Regions from separate parts of the Homo sapiens genome. Here all the other regions are linked to region 7. Evidence: promoter capture Hi-C in 16 types of primary human blood cells and fetal thymus (Javierre and others, 2016). All regions are on one chromosome and are shown on one strand. The core of a region is centred on a gene start or on the middle of the fragment in contact, and the rest is flanking DNA. Distances in the headings are between cores, read along the strand shown. Region 1 overlaps SLC4A7 (solute carrier family 4 member 7). Region 2 has its middle 110 kb from the start of SLC4A7. Region 3 overlaps SLC4A7 (solute carrier family 4 member 7). Region 4 has its middle 18 kb from the start of SLC4A7. Region 5 has its middle 49 kb from the start of SLC4A7. Region 6 overlaps SLC4A7 (solute carrier family 4 member 7). Region 7 holds the start of ZCWPW2 (zinc finger CW-type and PWWP domain containing 2).

Region 1 (3,699 bases), core at 156-2,655, 920 kb before region 7:
TTTAAATTAAGGTTTATCTATTTCAACAAAATACTCATTTACCAAAATAAAAAAATCATAGTTCACATAGGTATTTTTTTGTAATCCATGCCTTTAACCTACCCATGGGGAAGCACCAATATATTTCTCAGTGACATTCCAAAAGTACTGACACCATAAGACAGTAATTCTGGGATCGCATTACAGCCCAGGAAAGACTGAATCATTAGTGCTGTAACATCACTCCCAGAATTAACGTTCTAGTGGTGGTAGCTCCAGAACAAATGACTGTAGTTCAAAAAGTACTGACGTTTCACGATATCTATGGGTAGGTATGGATGGAAATATCGTATTATTCACATATTCTTTTTCAGAATTTCTAACACTAGTAATGGTGTAAAGTTATTCAAGTACTCACAGGTTAACTGTAACCCTTCTCACAGTTTTTACCTTAAATTAACATATCACAGACATCACATGCAGGTTTGTAAGCACCAGTCTACTAAAAAATTACTATCATCAATGTTAATAATATTAGCCACAAATTACTACTTATTTCCTCAGTAAGAATAATTATGAGAATTTTCAGTTAATGATAGAATTACCTTGCTGAAGTCAACAGTACTATTTTCTCTGCTTCCACCACTTCCATTACCTTTAATTTCTCCACTTTTACTATTGTCCAAGTTTCCAGGAGCAGACTGGGGAGAGGCCAAAATACCTATGTTTAAAGACAAATTCCAAATTAGTAAGGAGAAAATTCACTTTGCAACCTGATTCTGCTCACATTCTGAAAGTGATGATTTATGAATATTATAAAAGCAAATGTGCAAGGTTAAAAAAAATAAGTGCCCGGTGTTAGTAACATACCAGCAAAACTAGAACAACATTTTAAGCAATACCAAAGCTATACATTTTAATATTTAAAATAATACAATTAGAATTTACAAAAATTGTGGCCTTTTGCAAAAAGAAATAAAACGTGAGTTGGTGTGAACCACAAAAGATGGAAGACCTGAGTCTGATTATCATTAAAAATACTTAGGGAATATACTTTTAATTATCATAAACATGTGAAATGCATGGAACTTAATGAAGCCTAGCTGTACTTAGCATGCTTTCAACAATAAATTCTCTGACAAACCCTAAGTGTAACTCAGAAAAAAGCTACACTAACTAAATGCAGATTGAATTAACATAATCTCCCATAATCAGAAGTTTCCTAAAGACTTTTCATTTTTCTTTGTTAACATTTATGTCTATAATACCTATTGTCATTACTCCTAAGAAATCCAACTTTAAAATATAACAAGCAAGTTTTTTGCAATGAAATTGGCAGAGTAAGAGTTTTATAACCAAAGGGATCTGTGTTTAAATTATGCACTCTCTGCCACTTTGTATCTATGTGACTGTAAGAAACTCACTCCATCTCTAAGAGTCAGACAAACTCATAAAAATAGCTTATTTGGATTAGAAATGATACTTGTTTGGATTTCAAAGGACAGACACATATTGAAGCATTAGTATATTCATTTCAAAAGTGACATTCAACACCAACATTTCGCAATAATAAAAACACAGCTTAATATGAGACTAATCATTAACACTATGAATTCTAATTCTGCAAAAAAGTTAAAATTTAAAAAATTTCAAATTCAGCCGGGTGCAGTGGCTCATGCCTGTAATCCCAGCACTCTGGGAGGCAGAGGTGGGTGGATCACCTGAGGTCAGGAGTTCAAGACCAGTCTGGCTAACATGGTGAAACCCCATCTCTACTAAAAATACAAAATAAGCCGGGCGTGATGGCGTGTGCCTGTAGTCCCAGCTATTTGGGAGGTTGAGGCAGGAGAATCGATTGAACCCAGGAGGCGGAGGTTGCAGTGAGCCAAGATTGCACCATTGCACTCCAGCCTGGGCAACGAGAGAGAAACTCCGTCCTAAAAAAAAAAAAAAAAAAAAAAAGGGCCAGGCGCTGTGGCTCACCCCTGTAATCCCAGCACTTTGGAAGGTCAAGGCGGACGGATCACCTGAGGCTGGGAGTTCGAGACCAGCCTGACCAACATGGAGAAACACCCTCTCTACTAAAACTACAAAATTAGCCTGGCGTGGTGGAGCATGCCTGTAATCCCAGCTACTCGGGAGGCTGAGGCAGGAGAATTGCTTGAACCCAGGAGGCAGAGGTTGCAGTGAGCCAAGATTGCACCATTGCACTCCAGCCTGGGCAACAAGAGCAAAACTCTGTCTCAAAAAAAAAAAAAAAAAAAAAAAAAAAAAATTTAAATTCAAGTACACTACACAGATTTCTACTACTAGGTTGGTGCAATTTCCTTTGCTCCAACCTAATATTAAATGCATCTCATTTTTTTCAAAACATCCAAGGTTTTCTAGTGCAAGAATATAGACTAATAATTCCTAAAACACTGAACATTATAGGAGGAAAAGGTACTGAAATACAACAGACTTTACTTTTTGTTTTAACTGTCCCATGCACAGCAACACATGGAAGTTCAGTTAAAATCTGTTTTGTGGTTAGATTCTATAAGCTCTGAAGATGTACTGGTAATCAAGTTCCAGAATTTAAAGTACATCAGATATACCTGACACATCTAAAGGAGTTTTCACTTTTGTAAAACAGAATATACTATAACCAATGAATACTGAAACTAAGTCATCTGGGTTTACGGCTTACGCTTTATGACAGAGACTGCTGTCATCGTCACTTCTCTGTAAATACCTAAACTACAATGTTGATGTGACGAAAAATCTTAATTTGCAATCTATTTAGCCATGTGCTCACTTTCTGGAAAAGTTAAACAATTCCGAAATACAAACGATTTCCCAAGCCTCAACTCATTTCTTACAACCTTAGCTTGGCACACCAAGAAGATTCCTCTTCTTTGACCTTTGTCCCTAAACTTCCAGAAGAGTCCCTTCCTTGCTCAAGAGATAAAAAGTTAACCAGTGTTTTTCAGTGACTTCCAACTACTTCCACACAAGAAAACTGAGAGTACCATTTGGCCCTGGTGGCAAACGCAGCTGAGCATTACATACTTCCAAAGGCTAAATGTATTCCACCTGTGTATATATATCATCAAAAGCATACATAACGCACAGTTTTCCAGAATAGTCCTAGCTGCCAGATATGAGGGAAAAAAGTGGAATGATGAGAAGACTCTAAGGAAAAGTAAGGATATGCCAGCAATGAGAAGAAGAAATAATGAAGAACTCAACATTGACAAAGTTAGCAGGTATAACCTGAAGTCACATGGCTAACCTGGTCATCTTGAAAACCTGTCCCTTTTTCAAAACTGGCACACTGGATGCATGCTACAGTTCTTCATCATTATGATTTGTGTAGTCTTTCCCAACCTCAGCTAAACTAAAACTGTTTTCTCAATCAGTAAAGTCTCCCTGCTCCTATAATAAATTCCTAGCATTCACAATGAGCAAATTACAAAAAAATAAAGCTATCATTAGCACAAACACAGAAGGACTATATTACTTTGCTTTAAGGAAAAAAATATATGTATAAGGAAATCAAAGATATCAGCATTTTCTTTAAATTTTTCTTTAAATTTCAAATTTTAAACTTTTCATTAAAAATTTGAAAGTGAGGTAGTTACAGCAATGGTGCCCAACTAGGAAAGATTATGACCCCCAAGGGACTTGTGACAATGTCTGGAGACATATTTGGTTGTCACAACTCGGGGGTGCTGCAGG
Region 2 (3,449 bases), core at 791-3,290, 760 kb before region 7:
TCCTCCTGGGCTAAACTGATCCTCCCACCTCAGCCTCCCTAGTAGCTGGGACTACAGGTGCATACCACCACCAAGTCCAGCTAATTTTTGTATTTTGAGTAGAGATAGAGCTTTGCCATGTTAGCCAGGCCTGTCTCAAACTCCTGACCTTAAGTGATCCGCCCGCCTCGGCCTCCCAAAGTTCTGGGATTACAGGCATGAGTCGCTGTGCCTGGCTTTATTTTATTTTTAATTAACATGGAATAATGTACATATTTATAGGTACGACGTGACATTTTGATATCTGTATACAATGTGTAATGATTAAATCAGGTTCATTAGTGTATCTATTACTTCAAAACATTTATCATTTCTTTGTTTTGGAAACATTCAAAATCCACAGGGTGCCATACCTCATGCTGGTAATCCCAGCGACAGAACGAAGCTCTATGTCAAAAAAAGAGAAACATGCAAAATCTTCTCTTTTAGCTATTTGAAAATATACAATAAGTTATTGTTAACTATTGTCACCCTATAGTTCTATAGAGCACTAGAGCTTACTCTTCCTATCTATCTGTCCTTTTGTATTCCGTATCCAATCTCTATCTCCCATCCCCCACCCTTCCTAGCCCATAGTAACCACAATTCTACTCTATTTCTGTGAGCTCAACTTTTTAGCTCCCACATATGAGTGAGAACATTAGAATTCCATTGCTGTTACTGCATGCTTTTTCTCTATTCTATCTCTTTGCTCCTCCCAGGAGAGGAGATTTCCTCCTGAGCAAAGGAGGTGTGTGGGTTGGGAAGGGAAAGCAAAGTAAAGGGATAGAAAACAAAAAAGAAGATATAAATGCAGCAAAAAGTAAAAACAGAAGAGCCAAAGAATGAACACTAACAGGAGAAGAAAAGCAAGAATGAGAAAGATAGGAATGCTATTCATCTTTCTGGCTTTCTCATCTCTTTTCTTCTCTGTTGATAACATAAAAGTGTGAAGAGGCTGATTTCTTTTTCAGCAAAAGCCTTCATGGAAAACACTGGTGACTGTTTTGTTTTCAATGGCTATATGCACAATGCAAGGTTGAAGAAGGAGAAATAAATTTTCTGTAAAGAAAAACAAAAATCAGTCCTGGAGTGGGAGGTGCATGCTGAGAGATGTAAATTCAATTAATCATCACTTTTGATAAAATCCAAGTCTTCTTGCACAATAATGGGTGCTGGCCTAGAATGTTACTTCCTCTTCTGTCTTCGAGGAGAGAAAAATCTGATTTCCAAAGAAAGAGAAATTCATCATCTCTCCTGGGTCACCTTCAACAACCACAGAGCTGGTTTTCTGAAGTGATGTGTCATAAAGTCACAGTACCCTTGAAGGTAACCGGAAATCATTGTTTTCACAGGGAAAAAGGCAACCGGAAGTTACAACTTCCACTGGAGAATATAATCATATCCTCTTGCCAATGTGGCTGGAACATTCCCTGACCACTGTAGCTTTTTGATACTGTCAGTGAAGGAAATAGTGATTATAAATCTTGATGAAAGATTACAGGAGTCATTTCAGCCTTAGAGAATTGCAATATGTTCAAGTGTTTAACATAATCTTAAAATGTAATAGGAACTGTTGTCTAATTTAATCATCAGTCTTTAGCTGTCAACACAGATGCATTAAGTTGGTAAATGGCAAAGGGAAAAATAAAGAAGTGGTTGTGCACAGACGAAAGGATACTTTCATTTCCCTTAGAGCTTGGTTTAGTCAACAGTTCCAAACAGTCACACAGCAGTCTGTTTGTATGAAATTTTGCCAGTGGGAATTAAGCTGAAAAAGAGTATTTTCCCTTCAGAACTTACGAGTTTCCAACTGGGACATTTTGCATAATAGATTCACTTTTCTATTGTGAACATGTGATCTACTTATGAAATGCTTCAACAAATGAAAGCAACAACAGAAAAGGCAGGACACATCCAGTATTATCAAGCTTCAATTGCTCTAAAAATTTTTCTGCAAACTCTCCCTCTTTGTTCCTTACTCTCCTCATAGCCTTCCTCTTTTCTGTCCCACCAAACCCCAAACTAACAAGTAGCAGAGGCATTTTGACGTTGAGCCATAAAAAATAATCACTATGACACACATGGTTCCAGGCCTGCTTTCACCTTCCATCAAAGCTTTGTCTCAACAACAGCTCTTTTCCAGCCTGGAATCTTGCCTTAAATTTTCGTGTCTTTTCCTCCCCAGAAGGACAGGATGTTAATGAATCACGGTCTACTAGGAAAAGCTTTTACCTAGGCTGAGGAATGGGCTTTCAAAGAAAAACCAATAATCTCCATCAAGTCCTGGAAGCAAACTAACATTGGGTCTCCCCTCACCATTCTAACAAAGCTGTGCTCTGTCTTCATTGCTCTCTTTCTCTCTTTCTTTCTCTAATACACATGTACTCATGCACACATACCTTGTCTTTTGAGTGAAAGTCTCTCTCTTTGTGACACACAAACACACATCCACACCCAAACACCGAAACACATACCCATTGTCTATTGAGAGAAAGCCTTTGGGCTTTATTGATAATTTTGACTCTGGAAATTAAGTAACTGTATCATTTTGGCAGGGACACTCGTGGGAGTTGAAGGTCAATATGCAGCTGGCTGCATCTTACAAATTGTTTCAGTAATTTTTGTTATCTCTTCCTGGAGCAGAATCTAGCTGAATACATTAGATGTAAGAACAAAGCCCAGCAGCCACAGAATTTGAATAATCACTTCCGGGGTAAACCACTCATGTCTCAGAAACCAGTTGGTGATAGACAAGATATGGAAGCCATGGAAAACCCATAAATCATTGACCAATGATGCCCGAAGAAAGGGCTTGGGATAAAATGTCAGCATGGGAAGAATAGAGCCATTTATACCATCTTTAATTACACTACAACTTAAATTATATTCAATGACATTACTTCATCTAGAGAGAAATACTAGATTCCCACAGATTTTGCTGTTTTTGAAAATCCACACCTGGCTGGGCGTGGTGGCTCACACCTGTAATCCCAGCACTTTTGGAGGCCAAGGTGGGCAAATCACTTGAGGTCAGGAGTTTGAGACTAACCTGGCCAACATGGCGAAACCCCATCTCTACTAAAAATACAAAAAAAATTTAGCTGGGCATGGTGGTGCACGCCTGTAATCCCAGCTACTTGAGATGCTGAGGAAGAAGAATCACTTGAACCCTGGGAGGCAGAGGTTGCAGAGAGCTGAGATCACGCCATTGTACTCCAGCCTAGGTGACAAGAGTGAAATTCTGTCTCAAAAGAAAATAAGAAAATAAAAAAGAGCCAGGCACAGTGGCTCACGCCTGCAATCCCAGCACTTTGGGAGGCCGAGGCAGGCAGATCACGAGGTCAGGAGTTCAAGACCAGCCTGGACAACATGGTGAAACCCCATCTCTAATAAAAATACAAAAATTAGCCAGGCATGGTGGTGAATGC
Region 3 (3,466 bases), core at 443-2,942, 950 kb before region 7:
CCTCCCACCTCAGCCTCCTGAGCAGCTGGCACCACGGGAGCATGCCACCATACCTGGCTAATTATTTTTATTTTTATAGAGACAGGGTCTCATTATGTTGCCCAGGCTGGTCTTGAACACCTGGCCTCAAGCAATCCTCCTTCCTTGGCCTCCCAAATTGCTGGGATTACAGGCGTAAGCCACTACACCTGGTATACATTATTTTAAAAATATATACAGCTTACCACTGAAATGCTTGCTATACTAAAAACCTAATGAAATTATTTCCCAAGTAAACTGTGGAAAACAAACCTAATTTTAGGTATTTTAAGTATATTTTAATGTTTCATGTTCACATAACTAAGTATAAATGTTATAATAAGATTGTAAAACACGGCAATAAAGAAATTTTACCTTTAGGACTGAAGTCATGAACACAGAGAGGCCCATTAGAATAAAAATCATTAGCCCTGTAACCCGCTGTTCACGAATTCCCAAAAACTTGGGTTGTTCCCCTGGAGCAGAACATTCAGATTCAACTTTTAAGCTGTTGACATGACTTATTGACAACACTGTTGCAGCCACAAACCATGGAAGTCCCATGACAGAGCAAACTCCCAACATAACGCCAACCATGAGCAAATCAAGGTGATAGCCAGCTCCTTTCTGAAAAGTGAAATGAACATAAATATCTGTAAGTCTAAATGGTTCCCTCAATTTAAAATTCTACACGAATTATAAAGAGGGAAGAAGCTAATTTTCATCTTACATCTTTTAATGTTCTAATCATTACAAAAACAGCTCAAACCCTTGAAGAATCACAATGCTTAAGGCAAAATTCTAAAATTACCTTCAATTTGTGTTCCTTTCTGTTTATAATTACAGCTGTGATTTGTTGATCCATAAAGATGAGAATGGTACAAAGCAAAGCAGGAATAGCAGCTATTAATAAGGTCCACCAAGGATTATCTCCCAGTGGGCTTATGATCCACCCTCTCTCTGGATGAGTAGGCTGTTAAAAAATTAAATATAATTTTCAAAAAGTCTCCTTGCTGTATTGCACTAAATTTCCATAACATAGACTTGATCTGTTCCAAGAAATACCCAACGAATGGGAAATAACTTAAATCTTGAACTACATGGTGAATTATTTTCAAAGATGGCCACAGTAATTCTTCCTATCCCTATAACTATACCTCCTGTCATTTGACTCAGTCAATCTTTCCACCTAGAGGTGGAGTCTGCCTCCTTCCCCCCTGAAACCAGGATGACCCTGTGACTTACTTTAACCCACAGAATAAGGCCAAAGTGACACTATGTGATTTCTAAGTCTTAACCTTAAAGAACCTTGCAGCTTCTTCTCTAACCTGCTTTGAACCCTGAGATTATTACGCTGTCGAGTAAGCCTAGATAAGCTTTCTTGAGGATAAGACTATCCTCAATATAGTCTATATGGTAGTGGGTGTCGGGGGCGGTTCCCCAGGCAACTATTCCAGCTGTTTCATCCATCTGAGCTGAGGCCTCAGACATATGAATGAAGGCATATTGCCCCCATTGATGACTGCACCCCACAGAGCAGACCACAAACCAGCTAAGCCTAGTCTCAACTGCCACAGAATTATAAACAAATAAAGGGCTGTTATTCAAAAGTTTGTTATGTAGAAATTGATAAGCAAACTGGAATGTCATTTCCACATGTTCCTGCATAATTCATATAAGGTGAAATCAATCTATCCACTAAACTCCTAAACTAAACTGCTTTAGTCTAGTCCTGCAGACTTAGTGATTTTGACAGGGTCAGTACTAAATCAGAACTGGTCCACAATACATGGTATTTCCAAAGGAACTACTAACAAAAATCTGGCACTTTATGAGATACTAATACATTTTGACAGTACAATGTAAGATTTTATAGCAATTTTTTTTTAAAGATCAAGAGAGTTTAGTATGTTTGGGAGAATACTGCATATATAGAAACCTAAACATATGTTTTTATTACCTCAACTTGGTATTAAGCTTGTTTCTTCTTCATGAAAACATTTGTCAATATAAAAGGGAAATTTAATACTTTCAAAGTTCAGGTAATTCAATCTTTCCACACTAATATATATTAAACTACCTCACACTCAATGTTGTGTATGAACAAAAATATTTTATTCTACTTATACAATGCCATTTACTCTTAAGAGTTCCTTGATTTGCTTCCTCAAGTATATTTTATGCCCCTTGAAATCAGCCTATTACCTGAAAGCCATATCAGTAAATAAATAACAAGGACATATTTAAGAATCAGAATAAGGAACTTAGGCCAGGATTACAGGAAATTACATCACGTTTTGAACCAATATTAATTCATAGTTTCATTTATTTATATATTCTCATAAAATAAACCTAAAGTTTAATATTTTCATATTTTTACATTAAAAACATAAGACTTTCTAAAAATTGTTGGCAGATCATTTTCCACCTGTGTACCCTACTTTAAAGACCACTGATTTTAAAAATAACATTTTGGTCTCAGTGCAATATTATAAAATTAGATTTTATAATATAAAATAAAATGATCTTCATTATATTCCTTATTTCGGATCCCCTTTAAACCAGCTGCTTCTGAAAGAAGTCATATAACTTGTTAAATTAAATATAACCAGTGACACTATTCACAATGTCTTTCCTTTTAGCATAAGCAAAGGAGGATGGAAGAAAACAAAAACAGAGCAGAAGGAAAATGAATATATTCAAATCTGCTAATGAAAGCAGAAAATTCAAATGGATGCTCAGATCATTTTTCTTATAGAACACACTTCGTTTTCTCCTTATGCTACTGGAAATTGTTACATGGAATTTTCCAACTACTGTCAGATATACTACCCTTCTAGAAATTTAACTAGACCCTCTCTGCCACTCCTAGAAAATTGAATTTTAGGTTACTTTTTTTTTTTGAGATGGAGTTCCCCTCTTATTGCCCAGTCTGGAGTGCAATGGCATGGTCGCAGCTCACTGCAACCTCCGCCTCCTGGGTTCAAGCGATTCTCCTGCCTCAGCCTCCCGAGTAGCGGGATTACAGGCGCCCGCCACCACGCCTGGCTAATTTTTGTATTTTTAGTACACCATGTTGGCCAGGCTGGTCTTGAACTCCTGACCTCAAGTGATCCACCTGCCTCGGCCTCCCAAAGTGCTGGGATTACAGGCACAAGCCACTGCACCTGGCCTGGGTTACTTCTTTATAAAAAAATAAAGGCTGTTTCCTTCTCCCTGGAAGGTACAGCAAGAACTCCAGGTAGGAGAGCAAAGACTTTTTTTTTTTTTTAATGGCTCCCTACATCTTACCACAAATATTTTCATTCACTCTCTCTAATGGACCAGCGGTGATACTTTTAAGTTCACATGTCTCTTTTCTGTCCATATTGTCATTGTTTATATACATATGAAAAACACATATAAATTATTTCCTTTCAAAGCATCAGCCCTTCAAAGAGACTACATA
Region 4 (3,736 bases), core at 180-2,679, 850 kb before region 7:
CTGAGACAGGAGAATCTCTTGAACCCGAGAGGCAAAGGTTGCAGTGAGCCGAGATGGCACCATTGCACTCCAGCCTGGGCAACAAGAGCAAAACGCCATCTCATTAAAAAAAAAAAAAATGTTATAGAAATCTGGGGACTGCAACACCCTCAAAAACCTTTCTCTAGTTTTTAATAATTAAATTAGAGATGGCTACTGAATATTAGCTGGTTGAAATATGGCATTTGCGTAGGTAGATCAACAGTAAACTTCTACATACATAGGCACTGAGTAGGTGTTTATAAAATGCTCACTGAATCAATTTGTCAGGACAAAACTAATTCTGGAAAGTGAAATACATGGAGTCATCTTCCTGTTTTCCAGCTGTAGCCTGTCAGCACCACTACCTCCACTGTCCATGGGGATGCCAACTCTGCCCTTACTTTTGGCCATAATATCTACAGAGGCCTGTTACTACTGTGACCTGGGCTTCAGATGACTGGGGTCCTGTTGCTCCTCCATTCTTGACTCCTGGCTAAGCCTTTCCCAGCCATCCACATGCAAACCTTAGTTGAAAAGGCCTAGTCAGGGATCAGCAAATGACAGCCCATGGGCCAAAACTGACCAGCTGCCTGTTTTTATAAAGTTTTATTGGAACACATCCATGCTCATTCACTTATGTATTATTTAAGGCTGACTTTGGTGTTACAATGGTGGAGTTGAATAGTTGTGACAGAGATCATCTAACCTATAAAGCCTAAAATATCTACTATGTGGCCCTTCTGAGAAAAACTTTGTTTACCTCTGACCTAGATGCATAAGGCCAGATAATAATAATTATTGGGACCAGGCATGATGGCTCAGACCTGTAACCCTGGCACTTTGGGAGGCCAAGGCAGGTGGATCACTTGAGGTCAGGAGTTCGAGACCAGCCTGGCCAACAGGGTGAAACCCTATCTCTACCCAAAATACAAAATTATCCAGGTGTGGTGGCACGTGCCTGTAATCCCAGCTACTTGGGAGGCTGAGGCAGGAGAATTGCTTAAACCTAGGAAGCGGAGGTTGCAGTGAGCTGAAATCGAGCCACTGCACTCCCCTGGACAACAGAGTAGTGTGCAGTGACACAATCATAGGTCACTGCAGCCTTGCGCTTCTAGGCTGAAGCGATCCTCCCGCCTTAGCCTCCCAAGTGGTTAGAACTACTGGCACATGCCACCACACCTGGCTAATTTTTAAATATGTTTTTGTAGAAACAGGGTCTTGCTATATTGCCTGGCTGGTCTTCAATTCCTGGTCTCAAGCAATCCTCCCACCTCGCCTCCCAAACTGCTGGGATTACAGGGATAAACCAACACACCCCGGCCTATAATAAAGTTCTTGTGTGGCATTTACCATATGCCAAGCAGTACGCTAAGGTCTTTGCATATGTTAATTCCTTAGTCCTCACTACAATCCTATGAGGAAGCTGAGGCATAAAGAAGTTAAGGTAACACAGCTAATAAGCCTGTGTCTGGCCTAGATAGAGAAGGTATTGCAAAATAAATAGATTATCACAAGGATTCAAGAAATGAACAAAATCATAATTTGGAAGCTCCAATAAATCAGCAAACAAGTCATGGTGGAAATTATGAGAATAATGTGATTGTGGAAATAGGTTATTCCTAATAACCACATTCTGGCCAGCTGCAGATTCCTTTTGTGTCTGGGATTATGTGAAAAAGTAATGTTTAAGAAAATAAAAAACCAGGCCGGGTGTGGTGGCACACGCCTGTAATCCCAGCACTTTGGGAGGCCAAGGTGGTGGGGGGGATCACTTGAGGTCAGGAGTTCGAGACCAGCCTGGCCAACATAGCGAAAACCCATCTATACTAAAAATACAAAAATTAGCTGGGTGTGGTGGTGGGCACCTGTAATCCCAGCTACTCAGGAGGCTGAGACAGGAGAATCACTTGAACCCAGGAGGCAGAGTTTGCAGTGAGCTGAGATCTCGCCACTGCACTCCAGCCTGGGCAACAAAGCAAGTCTGTGACTCAAAAAAAAAAAAAAGAAAGAAAATAGAAATGACAATATAGAAAAATGGAACTGACCAAAAAAAGTTTTTTTTTTAAAAAAAGATATTTACTATAGAACTTCTACATTTAAATTGTAATTTCTGCATCAAGGTAGTAACCTTGGGATACTCTACATTTATTAAGAAATAATTTTTGGCCAGGTGCTGTGGCTCACGTTTGTAATCCCAGCACTTTGGGAGGCCGAGGCAAGTGGATCACAAGGTCTGGAGTTTGAGACCAGCCTGTCCAACATGGTGAAACTCCCATCTCTACTAAAAAGTACAAAAATTAGCTGGGCATGGTGACATGCACCTATAATCCCAGCTACTCGGGGAGCTGAGACAGGAGAATTGCTTGAACCCAGGAGGCGGAGGTTGTGGTGAGCTGAGATCGCACCACTCACTCCATCCTGAGCGAGAGAGTGAGACTCCGTTTCAAAAAAAAAAAAGGAAAGAAATAATTTTCAATGTTTGTTTAAAATAATTTTATAAATTCATATAAGGACCCCATATATATATATATATATTTTTTTTTTTTTTTTTTTTGAGGTGGAGTATCACTCTGCCACCCAGGCTGAAGTGCAGTGGTGCAATCTTGGTTCACTGCAACCTCCACCTCCCCAGCTTTAAGCGATTCTCCTGCCCCAGCCTCCCAAGTAGCTGGGAGTACAGGAGTGCGCCACCACACCTGGCTAATTTTTTGTTGTGTTTTTTTGAGACGGAGTCTCGCTCTGTGGCCCAGGCTGGAAGGAAGTGGCATGATCTTGGCTCACTACAACCTCCGCCTCCTGGATTCAAGTGATTCTCCCACCTCAGGCATCTGCCACCATGCCCGGCTAATTTTTGTATTCTTAGTAGAGATGGGGTTTCACCATGTTGGCCAGGCTGGTCTTGAACTCTTGACCTCATGATCCGCCTGCCTCGGCCTCCCAAAGTGCTGGGATTACAGGCATGAGCCATTGCGCCCGGACTAATTTTTGTGTTTTTAGTAGGGATAGGGTTTCACCATGTTGGCAAGGCTGGTCTCGAATTCCTGACCTGAGGTGATTCACCCTGCTCAGCTTCCCAAATTTCTGGGATTACAGGCATGAGCCACCATGCCCGGCCAAGAAACCCAATATGTTTAATTTGTGGTTTCATTGTTATAAAGCTTATTTTAGTCTCAAGTCATATGATTGCTATTATTTAGCTTTATAGTGCACTTTATTCGCCAAATGTGATCCCCAGAGACTTCTGGCTACTTTCAAAAAGTAAGTCCACTCCAAAGTAATTCCAAGAATAGATTTTCCAGTCTTGTCTGAATAATTCACTGCTTAACACCAGAATCTGGCACATAGTAGATGCTCAAAAAACTGTTAAACAAAGGAGTGACTTTCTCAAAAGTTCCAAAGTATTTTAAGAAATGACAACACTGTTGGAAAATCTCTCTAGGTGACTGCTTTGAAGAAACAACATGCAGTTGGTTCATCAAATTACTCTGATTAATCTTTTCAACAAATACTCATTGAGAACCAGGGCTTGCTACATAGTTTGTGGGGCCCAGTGAAAAATGAAAATGGAAAACTCCTTGTTCAGAAAGCAAGAAAAAAGTATTTTTCTTTCTTCTGCAGTCTCCTTCTCAACCTGAAATTATGTTTTATATTTGCTAGTCAATGTCGTGTTCCCTTGGGCATGTGGATATTTGCAGACCCTTGCAGACATTGCAGA
Region 5 (3,773 bases), core at 1,184-3,683, 810 kb before region 7:
TTGTTAACAAAATGTTTACAAGCACTATGCTTGGTAAAAGTCATCGCCATTCTCTAGTCTCGATAAACCAGAGGCACAATGCACTGCGGAAAGCCGCAGGGAACTCTGCCCTGGAAAGCCGGGTATTGTCCAAGGTTTCTCCCCATGTGATAGTCTGAAATATGGCCTCATGGGATGAGAAAGACCTGACCGTCCCCCAGCCTGACACCTGTGAAGGGTCTGTGCTGAGGTGGATTAGTAAAAGAGGAAAGCCTCTTGCAGTTGAGATAGAGGAAGGCCACTGTCTCCTGCCTGCACCGGGAACTGAATGTCTCGGTATAAAACCCGATTGTACATTTGTTCAATTCCGAGATAGGAGAAAAACCGCCCTATGGCAGAAGGCGAGACATGTTGGCAGCAATGCTGCTTTGTTATTCTTTACTCCACTGAAATGTTTGGGCGGATAGAAACATAACTCTGGCCTACGTGCACATCTAGGCATAGTACCTCTCCTTAAACTTAATTGTGACACAGATTCCTTGGCTCACATATTTTCTTGCTGATCCTCTCCTTATTATCACTCTGCTCTCCTACCACATTCCTCTTGCTGAGATAGTGAAAATAGTAATCAATAAAAACTGAGGGAACTCAGAGACCAGTGCCTGTGTAGGTCCTTGGTATGCTGAGTGCCGGTCTCCTGGGCCCACTGTTGTTTCTCTATACTTTGTCTCTGTGTCTTATTTCTTTACTCAGTCTCTCTTCCCACCTGACGAGATATACCCACAGGTGTGGAGGGGCAGGCCACCGCTTCAATGTTTGGGCTTTCTCAATAGGGTCTCATCCTCCATTCTTACCGACCAGAAGAAAAGTTGTGGTTGGTCAAAATCTGAGACATTAATGGGGCCACATTTTGGGGGTGTACCTCAAAAGCAGAGACCAAGCTTCATTCTTTCTCCTGTATTTCTAGCACTTGGGTGAACTGGACCATTTTTCTCTGGCCAGGCCACTTGCCTTAAAGTGGTGGGCTCAGGAACGTTGGCCCCCTGTGTCTCAGTATCTCTGCACCCGGAACAGGGTCTCTGAGAATCTCCGGATTGGAAAGTAGAGAACTTTAGCCCCAGGCCTGGGCCTTGCCTCCAGCACAGACTCCCAGAGGTTATTAGGCCTTCAGCTGGTGCTTCCTAAGTAGAAGGGTATTGTTTCCTATCCAGTCACCGATCCTTTTGTGTGCCCTCCCTTGGTTCAGAATCCCAAAGAGAATGAATGGGAGAACTCGAGTTCTAAATTCTGTCTTAGAAGCACTCAAATACAGTTTGTAGGGAGACTCCAAACTGGTCTCTCACTACCCTGACAGCCTAAAAACGCAGCTGGAATTTTGCATTCTCTTCCCCTAACCAATTAGTATATGCATTTCAAATACTATGCATAATATGCATATTAGTATATACAAGATAGGCTAAACACTGTGTGAAACTAAGAAGGTAAACCCTCTCCTAGCTTACAAACAATTGGTACAATTAAAAATATTTGACAATGGTGAAGGCATGGGCAATGGCTATTTACAAATCAAAATATAAATATTTTAATATTTTAGTAATAGGCGTGGTGGTACCAGTGTGTCTCAGTTAAATAGTAGTCTTGCCCCAAAGCGCTTTTGAATGCTTTGCCACCTATGCATCAGTGGATTCAGGAATGTAATGAGAGTTCTCAAAAGTAATGGAAGCAAAGCCAAGCAAGTCTCCCACTCCACACATCTTGCTTTTCCCTTTCTGTGTTGAGCTTTGGATCTTCCACAAAGGGGACTGGGTGCCCCTGCGGAAGTCCAGCCAGGGAGTAGTCAGACCTGGGGGGAGAGGATGGATTACAAGCCTGAATTTGCCTTCCCTACCAGACAAGCTCTGGCTTGAGGAATAGAGAAGTGAAAGAAAAAAGAGGTGCTTCGACTCAGTTGGAGACAGGGAGGGTTATGAGTGGAGTGAAGACAAGGCTCTTAATTCAAGCTGCCTCAAATTACATTTGTCCACACACGCAGCAAAATGCTGCTTAAAAAATAAATGAGGTTAATTTCTCTTTACGGGTTCCCTTTCATCTCAGGGTTTCAAAGCACTTTGCCACAAAAGATCCTTTATCTTCACAATTCTTTTTTTATCTAAATATAAACAGAGGGCCCTAAGTTTATATTTAAAGTTCAGTAAAGCCCTAAACTTTGGAAAGAAAAGGTACTTTAAAAATTCTTTTATCATTATAAGATCCAAGTAGCCAATCAAGGACCACACAGACAGAAAATCCACATTCAGATGAAAGGCCACACCTCTGCTCAGATGACCTGCGTGCTAATTAAAATCACAATTAAAACAAGCAGAGGGGATGGAGAGTGGTGACTTAACTTGCCCTTATCCCAGCAGATACACTCACAACTGACTCACACAGGATACATCGGATTTTCTCCAGCAGGCATTTGGAAAAAAGCAAAGAAGAAATTCTAGTTTTAGCTGCCCTCCATCTACTAACCCAGTAAACTCCATCCCTGGGTCGGTGACACATCCCTGACTCGCAGCCACCTCAGCAGAGCCCCATTCCGTGCAGGAAGAGCCAGCTTGGCCTCCTGGTGATGGGAATGTTGTTTGCATATGCATTTTTTCAGCAAAAGAAAGTCTCAAAATCTCCCTGGTTCCAGGGTGTGAGTCATTAGTGGGTGTTTGTTTTTTGGGTTCTGAGTGTGAGTCACCACCTTTCCTGCTGTTGGTCTTCTCAATCCTAGGGTAACAACTAAAAAGCGATGACTAGAGATGCCTGTGATGCTTAAAAGCGGACACCTGGACATTATTCATTTGGCAATTGTATCAACAATTAATTTTAAAGTTTGTTCTTTTCTCTGTAAACAAGTGTATAACGTTTATAAATAACAGTGGGAAAGAGGAAGGTGGGGGAAGGGAGAGAAACAAATCTAAAAAGGATATGACTGAGGTAAACGGAAGTAGAGTCTAGTCAAAGCCAAAATAGACAACTGCCTGTTTGTCAGCTAGAGGAGGGCCGGGGCTGGTGATGTTGACCAAACTCTATACATGAACAAGCATCTGATGCTGCTCTCTAGGACTTTTCCTCATTAGCCTGGGAGTGTGCGTCGGGAGGGCAGTCAGGAGGGACTGCCAGTGTTAACCATCAACTCTAGAATCTGAAAGAACAACATGGCTTTGAAATGACATCTTCCGGCCGGGTGCGGTGGCTCACGCCTGTAATCCCGGCACTTTGGGAGGCCAAGGCAGGCAGATCACAAGTTCAGGAGTTCGAGACCAGCCTGACCAACATGGTGAAACCCCGTCTCTACTAAAAATACAAAAATTAGCCAGGTGTAGTGGCATACGCCTGTAATCCCAGCTACTCAGGAGGCTGAGGCAGGAAAATCACTTGAACCTGGGAGGTGGAGGTTGCGGTGAGCCGAGATAGCACCATTGCACTCCAGCCTGGGAGACAGAGTGAGACTCTGTCTCAGAAAAAAAAAAAAGAAAAAAAAAAAGGACATCTTCCTGATGTTCCTCCCATTGGTGCTATGCCTGGTACCGTTTAGTACTGGGAAAGGACCTCAAGACCACCCAGAATTCTACAATGGAGAATGTTCTATAAAGTCACGGTGTCATGCCAGGACCAGGAACCAAAAAACAGCAGCTTGAAAACCAGTGATTTGACAATTTGGGCTACCCTAACGGCTAGTTTTTATTTCAGTGACATTGGGCAATAAATCAAGCCATTTAAGATGGTTGAAAGAAATCAAGATGACCACACACACACACACA
Region 6 (3,422 bases), core at 861-3,360, 900 kb before region 7:
TACAGCTCTATGACCTATTAAAAGGTTCAGAAACATATTACTAGCTTTCCAAAAGAGAAAAAAGTGATATATACAAAAGTACTCCAAAATCTACTCTGATAAAGAATATAAGTTCACGTAATTAACAATGGTAGTCTCCAGTTACTTCTCTTATTTTATAAAGCACTACACAGAATATTGTGCCCAGGGCTAATATCACTGACAGATGATTACACTAAATCTACAAATCACTTATGTAAGTATTTGCACATCTAAAAAGATATCTTTTTTTTTGTTTTGTTTTTGTTTTTGTATTTTTAGTAGAGATGGGGTTTCACCATGTTGGTCAGGCTGGTCTTGAACTCCTGACCTCCTGATCCGCCCACCTCAGCCTCCCAAAGTGCTGGGATTACAGGTATGAGCCACCGCACCTGGCCTAAAAAGATATCTTAAGAAAGAAGAGCTTAGCCCATCTGAGATCATACTATGTAGACATATATTTATTCCATCTACATTTATGGCCAACCATAGTTAGTAGAGGTCCTTAAGAGATATATTTTAATAACAATTAAATACTTTATAATAAATATAATATATAAATAACATTTTAGTAACAATTACTTTATAATAAATATAATGTATAAATATTTACAAATATTTATTTACTAATTTTTGAGTTTTGAAAAAAAAATCAATAAAGACCAAAATAAAAATAAAGTCCAAATTACTGAGAGCTACATTAAATGTAAATAATCCAAATAAAGGTTAGAAACTGTCAGATTAAATAAAAAAGCAGTAAGTAAAGTTATTGCATGCTTTTAAACTAGAAAAAGCTACTGCTGATATTGCATTATCCTAACTTTGCAGTATAATAACAAAATAGTTATGAAAGGCAGTCTGTTTTTGACCACTAGATGAAACTGAATCAGGAAAGCTACAGAGCTAGGAGCACTATGTCAAATATCAAATGAGTGTTGAGTGAAGAGGGATGTGAAGTACAAGGTCAACTAATCTGCAACTATGTACACAATTTAAAAAGTTAATAGGCTGAAATACAAATGATTAATGACATTCCTTTCCTAAAAATTCCATAAAATGCTCAGAAAATAAGTATTTCAAGAAACTTAGGACTGCCATCTTTATATGTGACTTGAAAGTACAGTTGATCCTCATTATTCATGGGATTCCATATTTGCGAAGTTGCTGACTCACTAACATTTACTTGTAACCACAAAATCAATACTTAGGGAGATTTCATGCCATTTTTCGGACAGGCACAGAGCAGCATAAAATTTGAGTTGCCTGACACTCATGTTCCCAGGTAAGGCTTAAAAATGTGATACTCTGACATCTTATTTCAGCTGCCAATATATTAACCTCATAAATAATCACCTTTTAAATTAAAAGAGGGACAACTTAACAAAACATACTGAACTATTTGTTTAAACTTCTCCCAGTACTCAGCCTAGCACATGGTAAGTACTCGATAAATGTCTATGGAATTAAATCTCAACTACTAGAAAACAAAAATTCCAAATGTAAAAGCTAATTATACAGGGTTTATTTTTGGAATTATAGATATGTTTCGAGAATTAGACAGTGGTGTTGGTTGCATAATATAGTGAATACATTTAAAAAAGTGTGTAATTTAAATGGTTAATTTTATGTTATGTGAATCTCATTTAAAAAGTAATAAGAAATAAATATAAAAAAACTCAATTTTATTTTAATGAAACTATTTCCTTCAAAACATAAAGAAAAGTGGAAATTAAAGAGTCAAATTCCCATCACTGCACTGGGAATTACAAAGTTGTTCCTCCAATTAGTACTAATGGGTCTTGGCACAGAAGCCCCAATGCACCAAGATAAAAATAAATGCTATGAGTGTGCAGTTTAGAAAGAAAGGGATAGATAAAATAAATAAAAACACGCTAGAATCCAAAGATTGGTAGATTAAGCTTATTGTGTTTTCTTCTTTTACTATTGCCTCTAGTGTCCTCTGTTTTAATCTTTTTCTTTTTCTTTCCTTTTTCTTCTGCCCTTACTTTATTCTATCAAAAGCCTATTTACTCAAACTCTCTTAAACTTAATCTCTCCCTCAAACTTGATACCAAACTTGAAGATGTGTACAAAGTATGCAGAGCTTAGGGCCTGTGATAACCAAAGGAATCGAAGGAATATCCAGGTTATGTATAGGTGAGGGTTGACATTAAACATTAAATGTATGACTGTACATTTGAATTAGTAAAATTACCGCTAAAAATTTTAACCTCCCTAGCTCCTATAATTCACAGGATCTAACCATAAGCTTCTAGATAACTGAGGTTCTTTTTGGAAACCCTAACAAGCCTAGGCTCTTAAAGCCAATTTTTAGAGTTAAAAAAAAAAATCGTTTAGAGTTTAAAAAAAAGTCTTAGAATATAAATGAAAACATTTACAACATAAATCAAACTTTGTTTCTCTGTCCATCTCTTTTTTATTAAAATAAACAATAACTCAATATAGTACTAGCTCTCACAGAAGAGTTTAACTTAAGGATGTAGTTCCTATAAACATCCCCCAAAAATGTCTATCAAAATATTTGCCTTAAACACCACTTTAACCACATGTTCATAGTTAACATCATCAATAATAAGTCATGTTGATATCATATTGTCCACAGATATGGTGCACTGAAAAGGGAACATTACTTCTGTGGTATGCTTCCCAAATAACCATAACCTCCACCTACTCATGCCAAAACATCAGACTAAACCCAAACTGAGAAACACTGTACAAAATATCTAACCACTACTCTTCAAAAGTGTTAAGGTCATGAAAAACAAAAAAAGAATGAGAAACTGGTATAGATTAGGAGACTGAGGAGACTTGCAACTAAATGTACTGTTACAGATCCTCAACTGGATCAACTGAATCCTAGAACAGAAAAAGGCCATTAGTGGAAAAACTAGTGAAGCCTAAATAAAATCTGTGGTTTAACAGTAAACTAGTAATTAGTCAGATTCTAATTAAATTTGTAATTAACCAATGTTAATTTCTTCATTTACACAAATGTATGATGGCTGCGCAAAATGTTAACATTAGGAGAAACTGGGTGAAGTGTATGGAGGAACTATGTGCTGTCTTTGCAGCTATTCTGTAAATCTAAAATTATTTTCAAAAGAAAAGAAACCATTTGCCAGGACTTCTTCCTGTCTAAGGAAGAAAGATGGGCAAATAACTCAGTTGCTCTACAACTCTATGGAGAGGTTATTGCAACATTTTAAAAGGCTAATGTAACACCTATAAAATGAATGTTGAGATGACAATTAATGATAACTGTGGTTTATTAGTCTGGCACTCTAGTGTACTCATAACACAAATTACTCAGCCTGCTAGAAATGAAAAAAATAAGAGTTAACTAATTTTGTGACTGTGTCCTTTCAGTTTTCCAAGTTAAGGTA
Region 7 (3,922 bases), core at 238-2,737:
AGCATTTTACTTAATAATAATGACAAGGTTCTGCATTGGTAATTAATAGTAGCCAAGCGTTTATGGTATACCAAGCAGTGTGCTTCACCTTTTGGAGAAACTATCTCATTTGTTCTTCATAAGCATTCAGTAAATCTATGTAATACCTCTGAGGTTGTAAAGAATCTCCTCAGATTACAGGTGGAGAAATTGAGACATGAAAACATTAGAAAGTAGGGGAGCCAGAAATGAAAATCAGGCAGCTGACTCCAGAGCCAGCATAACTCTTAGAAACTATGCTTTGGTGCCTTAGAGTATGTATTACACCCATTTCAGAGATAAGGAAAATGAAGAAAAAGTTTAGCCTCTTACCCATTGTCAAGTAAATGGAAAAATCAGCATTCAGATACTGGTGTTCTGACCTAATCCAGTGTCATTTCCCATTATGTTATGCTGTCTCTTTAATATTAAAACCTTCTACTTGCGTAAGATGTCTGGCTTACAAACAATATCACATTAAAATTTGGAAATATCCTGTAAAGGATGCACTGTTCTCAATTTACAGATGATGAAATGATCACAAGATTGGGCAATGAGATATGGCGTTTTTAGAGAAATGAAATTCTGCCTTGAGATCTTGCTCAATCCAATTTGAAATTCCAATCTAAAAACCAAAATGTCTTCTACACATAAGGCGCAAGGGTCAATTTTAATTCTGGTACGTCTGTCTTTGATCACCTTAGCAAATTTCCATCACCTCTTGGAGCAACTGATGGTTTGATTTGTACTAGAGTTTTCGTGGGTATTTTATCTCGCTTTCGAGTATTGGGGTTTCTTTTGTGTAGAGGGTGTCAGCCTACCTTGCACGTAGTAGTAGTTACTCAACAAACAGCCGAAGGCTGGAATGAATACCGTATACAGGTTAGACATTGGAGAAACGACGAATACCTGTTAGCCCTCGATCAAGTGCAGGGGGTCGATATTCACCACTCAGATGCCCCAGGGAGTACCGTCCTAGCCAATGTCCCTCTTTTCTTTCCGATAATTTGTATCGGAAAGAAGCATTTAGCAGTCTCAATGAATGAAAAAAAACTGAAGGCGCCCCAGTAAGAGTACGAAAAGAAAAGGAGTAATTAGAGAAGTGAATGACCAAGAAGGGCCTGGACAGCTGGGGGTGAGGGTGACAGGGGAAAGGGTGTGGACAGCTGGGTGTGGGGGTGACTGGGGAAAGGGATGCCCAGGAGTGGGCCGCTCCCTAGTCAAAGGAGGGGGCGCGGGAGGGAGTGAGAAAAAAATGACGTGTCTTTTTGGACCGGCAACAGCTACGGAGGTTGGCCGCGGCATTGCCCGCATCCCTATCCTCCACCCGTCCCTGGCGAGTCACTCACCCAGAAGCCAGGCTACGTAGGGCCGCCCCCAAGGCCGCCGAGTTTCGATTCCTTAGTGTTTGGAAACGGACCGAAAACAAACCGGGTCGCCAGGGGTCACCACGGGCTTCCGGTTTCTTCGAAGACACCGCCGCTTCCACAGCGAAGGGAGCTGCTCCGGGCACGTCGCGGAGGGAGTCCCATTTCTTCTGACTCGGCAGGAGCCCGGGACGTTCTGGAAGGAGGGACGAGCCGAGGCAGGAGGGGCCGGGCCGACGCGAGAGAAGGCCCGTTACCCAGCAATACGCGCGCGAGACCCAGGCCCGCCGTCGGGACCAGCACGGGCCGGAGGGAGGGGAAGCACTCCGGAAAGTGATTGGAAGTGTGGATGAGCTCTCAGCCGGAAAAGGGGCTGCCGCTGTCCGCGGGCTCGGCGCCAGGGACGCGCGAGGAAACCGGAAGTCAGGCCCGAGGGAGCTGGGAGGGCGTTAGCGAAGCCAGGTTCGGTCGTGGGGGTGGGGAAGTGCAGGAGTGGCGCGCGGCGTACTACATGTCCCGTGAGCCTCCGCGGCGGGACGGGGCGGGGCCGCGGGACGCCAGGAGGCGGAGGCGGAGTGGAGTTAGGTAAGAGCGTTACCAGCCGTCTTGTCTGTTGGGCCGAGGTCCCCCTTCAGGGGCGCCCTCTGGTGCGTCTTTTTCACTCAGTGTCCTTTTGGGGGGTCCCCGGGCCGTGTGGTGCGTGCTGGCTCGGCTCAGTAGCGCTGTTACAGGCTTACGAGCTGACGTGGCTGGGAACTGGGAAGTCTGTTAGAAGCCGTTCCTCTGTAGCCTCTGTTTTCTAAACTACTTGCAAGCCCTCAGGCGATCACTTGAGGCACAAGCTCGACGAATTGCGTAGGGGTCTGTAATTATTCACAAACGACACCACGACTTCTAGCACACTGCTCAATTTATGGAATGAGAGACAGGGAGAAGATGCCAGAGTACTGGAGTTGCGCCCGGCTTCCCTGGAGTTGCCACCACCTTGGTTATTTCTAGATGATAGACCGTCCCTAGCTGTGGAGTCACAAGTAGTTGAATTAATTAGTCATTGAAGGTCGCAGCCAGGTGGAACCCCTGTAACTCTAAGGTATTATTGGTTAAATAAACAAATAAACAAGGAACAATAATTATAGAAAATTTAACGTCACTAACCGCCGATTAGCAATACGGACATTACTCACCACCCCCTTAAAGTAGTATTTTGTCATCTGTCCGCTTAACTATCAGCCCAACTGTCAGCCCAATAGGATGGATTTCACTCAAGGGTTTATATGAAAATTCGTTTTTATTGTTGTTGGTTTTTTTATTGTCTTTTTTGGTTTAGATTTAAGTGAAAATTTATAGCTGTTAGGAACAAAGACCACAAGTTGAAGTTTTATGACATTTCTAAAAATACTTAGAAATCTGTGTTAATGTTATCGTTGAGAAAGGAAACGATTTGCTTCAATTTACTGGGCTGGAGAATGGAAGAGAGCAGTGTTTTTAATATTTTGAGCAAGTATCAGTCCTTAAATTTTTTTATTGCTTCCATGATGCATTTTGAGAATTTTCAATTTAAAACAACCATTAGGTGTATGTTTTTACAAGTAGAGTTTTGAAGAATGCTAGCAAAATTGGTTGAGGCATCACAAGTTATTAGAAATAAAGTGGTAACCTGGTTTTTAATTTGAAGGTGTAGAAATATTTTTGAATCTTCGTTCACAATTTAAAATAATTTAAGAATTGTTGAAAAGGCAGGGGACATCATTTTTATCTTTTCTTTCTGAGTAAGTAAAGATAAAATGTCATAAATCAGTATTTTGAAGTTTATCTGGTGAGAGAGTCAATTTTTGTTTCACAGTGCACACTACACAGTGGGTTTATTAACATATAATGGGTTTATTAAGAAATGTATTTGCTTAACCAGGATGTACAAATTTTATTATTTTAGTCAAGTAAAACATCTTAGTTTTTCTTTTTGGGTTGTAGAACCCCTGCTAGATTATGACAAAATATAATCCGTATAGTCATTGGATTTAGCTGCAAATGGTCACTTTCCACCCTGTATCTGCTTCAATTAACTTTCTCAAATAAAATAAATTGTTAGAGAAAACTTGTTACACAGTTCATATATAATCATGTATTAAAGGTTTATTATCAGGGAAAGACCTCTGATAAGTTAATTAAAAGATACAGTCTTGATAAGGACATTTTATAGGAAAAGAGAATGGTTAGATAATTGTTAAGCTCTAAGAAAGAAAAGAATTTAGGGGTCCTGAATGATAATCTTAACTGATAGCCAACTAGTTCAGTGAGTGGTTGGTTTTCCAGAGCATCTTGATTCCATTGAAATTTATTGGAACTTTGCTTAGGGATTTTTTTCAGGAATTTTCATATTTTCCCAAGAGGGAGTTGTGAATTACATCATCTAAAAAGCTGTGTCCAAGGCCAAGTTTGGGACAGTTTCTTTTCTTTTAAACCATTACATTTTTTGTAGCTACAAATTTAATCTGAAATTTTCAAAACAAGTCACTGCTTTAAAAATATATATATAT

What was found. The method cuts DNA at HindIII sites, captures the fragments that hold promoters and counts their contacts. A CHiCAGO score of 5 or more calls a contact.
Region 1: a fragment that was not itself captured here is called in contact with the fragment with the promoter of ZCWPW2 in region 7 in 3 of 17 cell types (total B cells, naive B cells and non-activated CD4 T cells); the score reaches 7.1 in total B cells.
Region 2: a contact is called between a fragment that was not itself captured here and the fragment with the promoter of ZCWPW2 in region 7, in 5 of 17 cell types (non-activated CD4 T cells, monocytes, naive CD8 T cells and 2 more). The highest score is 7.6, in non-activated CD4 T cells.
Region 3: a contact is called between a fragment that was not itself captured here and the fragment with the promoter of ZCWPW2 in region 7, in 8 of 17 cell types (total CD8 T cells, activated CD4 T cells, total CD4 T cells and 5 more). The highest score is 8.6, in total CD8 T cells.
Region 4: a fragment that was not itself captured here is called in contact with the fragment with the promoter of ZCWPW2 in region 7 in 1 of 17 cell types (naive CD8 T cells); the score reaches 5.4 in naive CD8 T cells.
Region 5: a contact is called between a fragment that was not itself captured here and the fragment with the promoter of ZCWPW2 in region 7, in 1 of 17 cell types (monocytes). The highest score is 7.6, in monocytes.
Region 6: a fragment that was not itself captured here is called in contact with the fragment with the promoter of ZCWPW2 in region 7 in 3 of 17 cell types (naive CD4 T cells, naive CD8 T cells and naive B cells); the score reaches 5.9 in naive CD4 T cells.

What each region holds. Positions count from the first base shown.
Region 1 is chr3:27,423,453-27,427,151 of GRCh38, forward strand. It overlaps SLC4A7 (solute carrier family 4 member 7), which reads right to left. Exons shown (of 26, transcript NM_001321103.2): 8 at 585-700. Among named protein-coding and RNA genes, the nearest start is that of NEK10, 56 kb to the left of the region's middle. The HindIII fragment of the contact is 6,675 bases long and covers 1-3,699 here.
Region 2 is chr3:27,589,337-27,592,785 of GRCh38, forward strand. No RefSeq gene overlaps it. Among named protein-coding and RNA genes, the nearest start is that of SLC4A7, 110 kb to the left of the region's middle. The HindIII fragment of the contact is 187 bases long and covers 1,948-2,134 here.
Region 3 is chr3:27,394,125-27,397,590 of GRCh38, forward strand. SLC4A7 (solute carrier family 4 member 7) reads right to left here. Exons shown (of 26, transcript NM_001321103.2): 19 at 830-991; 20 at 394-645. Among named protein-coding and RNA genes, the nearest start is that of NEK10, 26 kb to the left of the region's middle. The HindIII fragment of the contact is 601 bases long and covers 1,393-1,993 here.
Region 4 is chr3:27,500,562-27,504,297 of GRCh38, forward strand. No RefSeq gene overlaps it. Among named protein-coding and RNA genes, the nearest start is that of SLC4A7, 18 kb to the left of the region's middle. The HindIII fragment of the contact is 3,495 bases long and covers 1-3,177 here.
Region 5 is chr3:27,531,479-27,535,251 of GRCh38, forward strand. No RefSeq gene overlaps it. Among named protein-coding and RNA genes, the nearest start is that of SLC4A7, 49 kb to the left of the region's middle. RefSeq lists enhancers at 1,126-2,068, 2,069-3,012 and a silencer at 2,380-2,674. The HindIII fragment of the contact is 3,030 bases long and covers 919-3,773 here.
Region 6 is chr3:27,448,784-27,452,205 of GRCh38, forward strand. SLC4A7 (solute carrier family 4 member 7) reads right to left here. Exons shown (of 26, transcript NM_001321103.2): 3 at 1-14. Among named protein-coding and RNA genes, the nearest start is that of SLC4A7, 34 kb to the right of the region's middle. The HindIII fragment of the contact is 350 bases long and covers 1,936-2,285 here.
Region 7 is chr3:28,347,234-28,351,155 of GRCh38, forward strand. ZCWPW2 (zinc finger CW-type and PWWP domain containing 2) reads left to right here and starts at 1,488. Exons shown (of 10, transcript NM_001040432.4): 1 at 1,488-1,970. It overlaps AZI2 (5-azacytidine induced 2), which reads right to left and starts at 1,591. Exons shown (of 8, transcript NM_022461.5): 1 at 1,368-1,591. RefSeq lists enhancers at 1,458-1,517, 1,705-2,685, 1,785-2,079, 2,118-2,197. The HindIII fragment of the contact is 7,230 bases long and covers 1-3,922 here.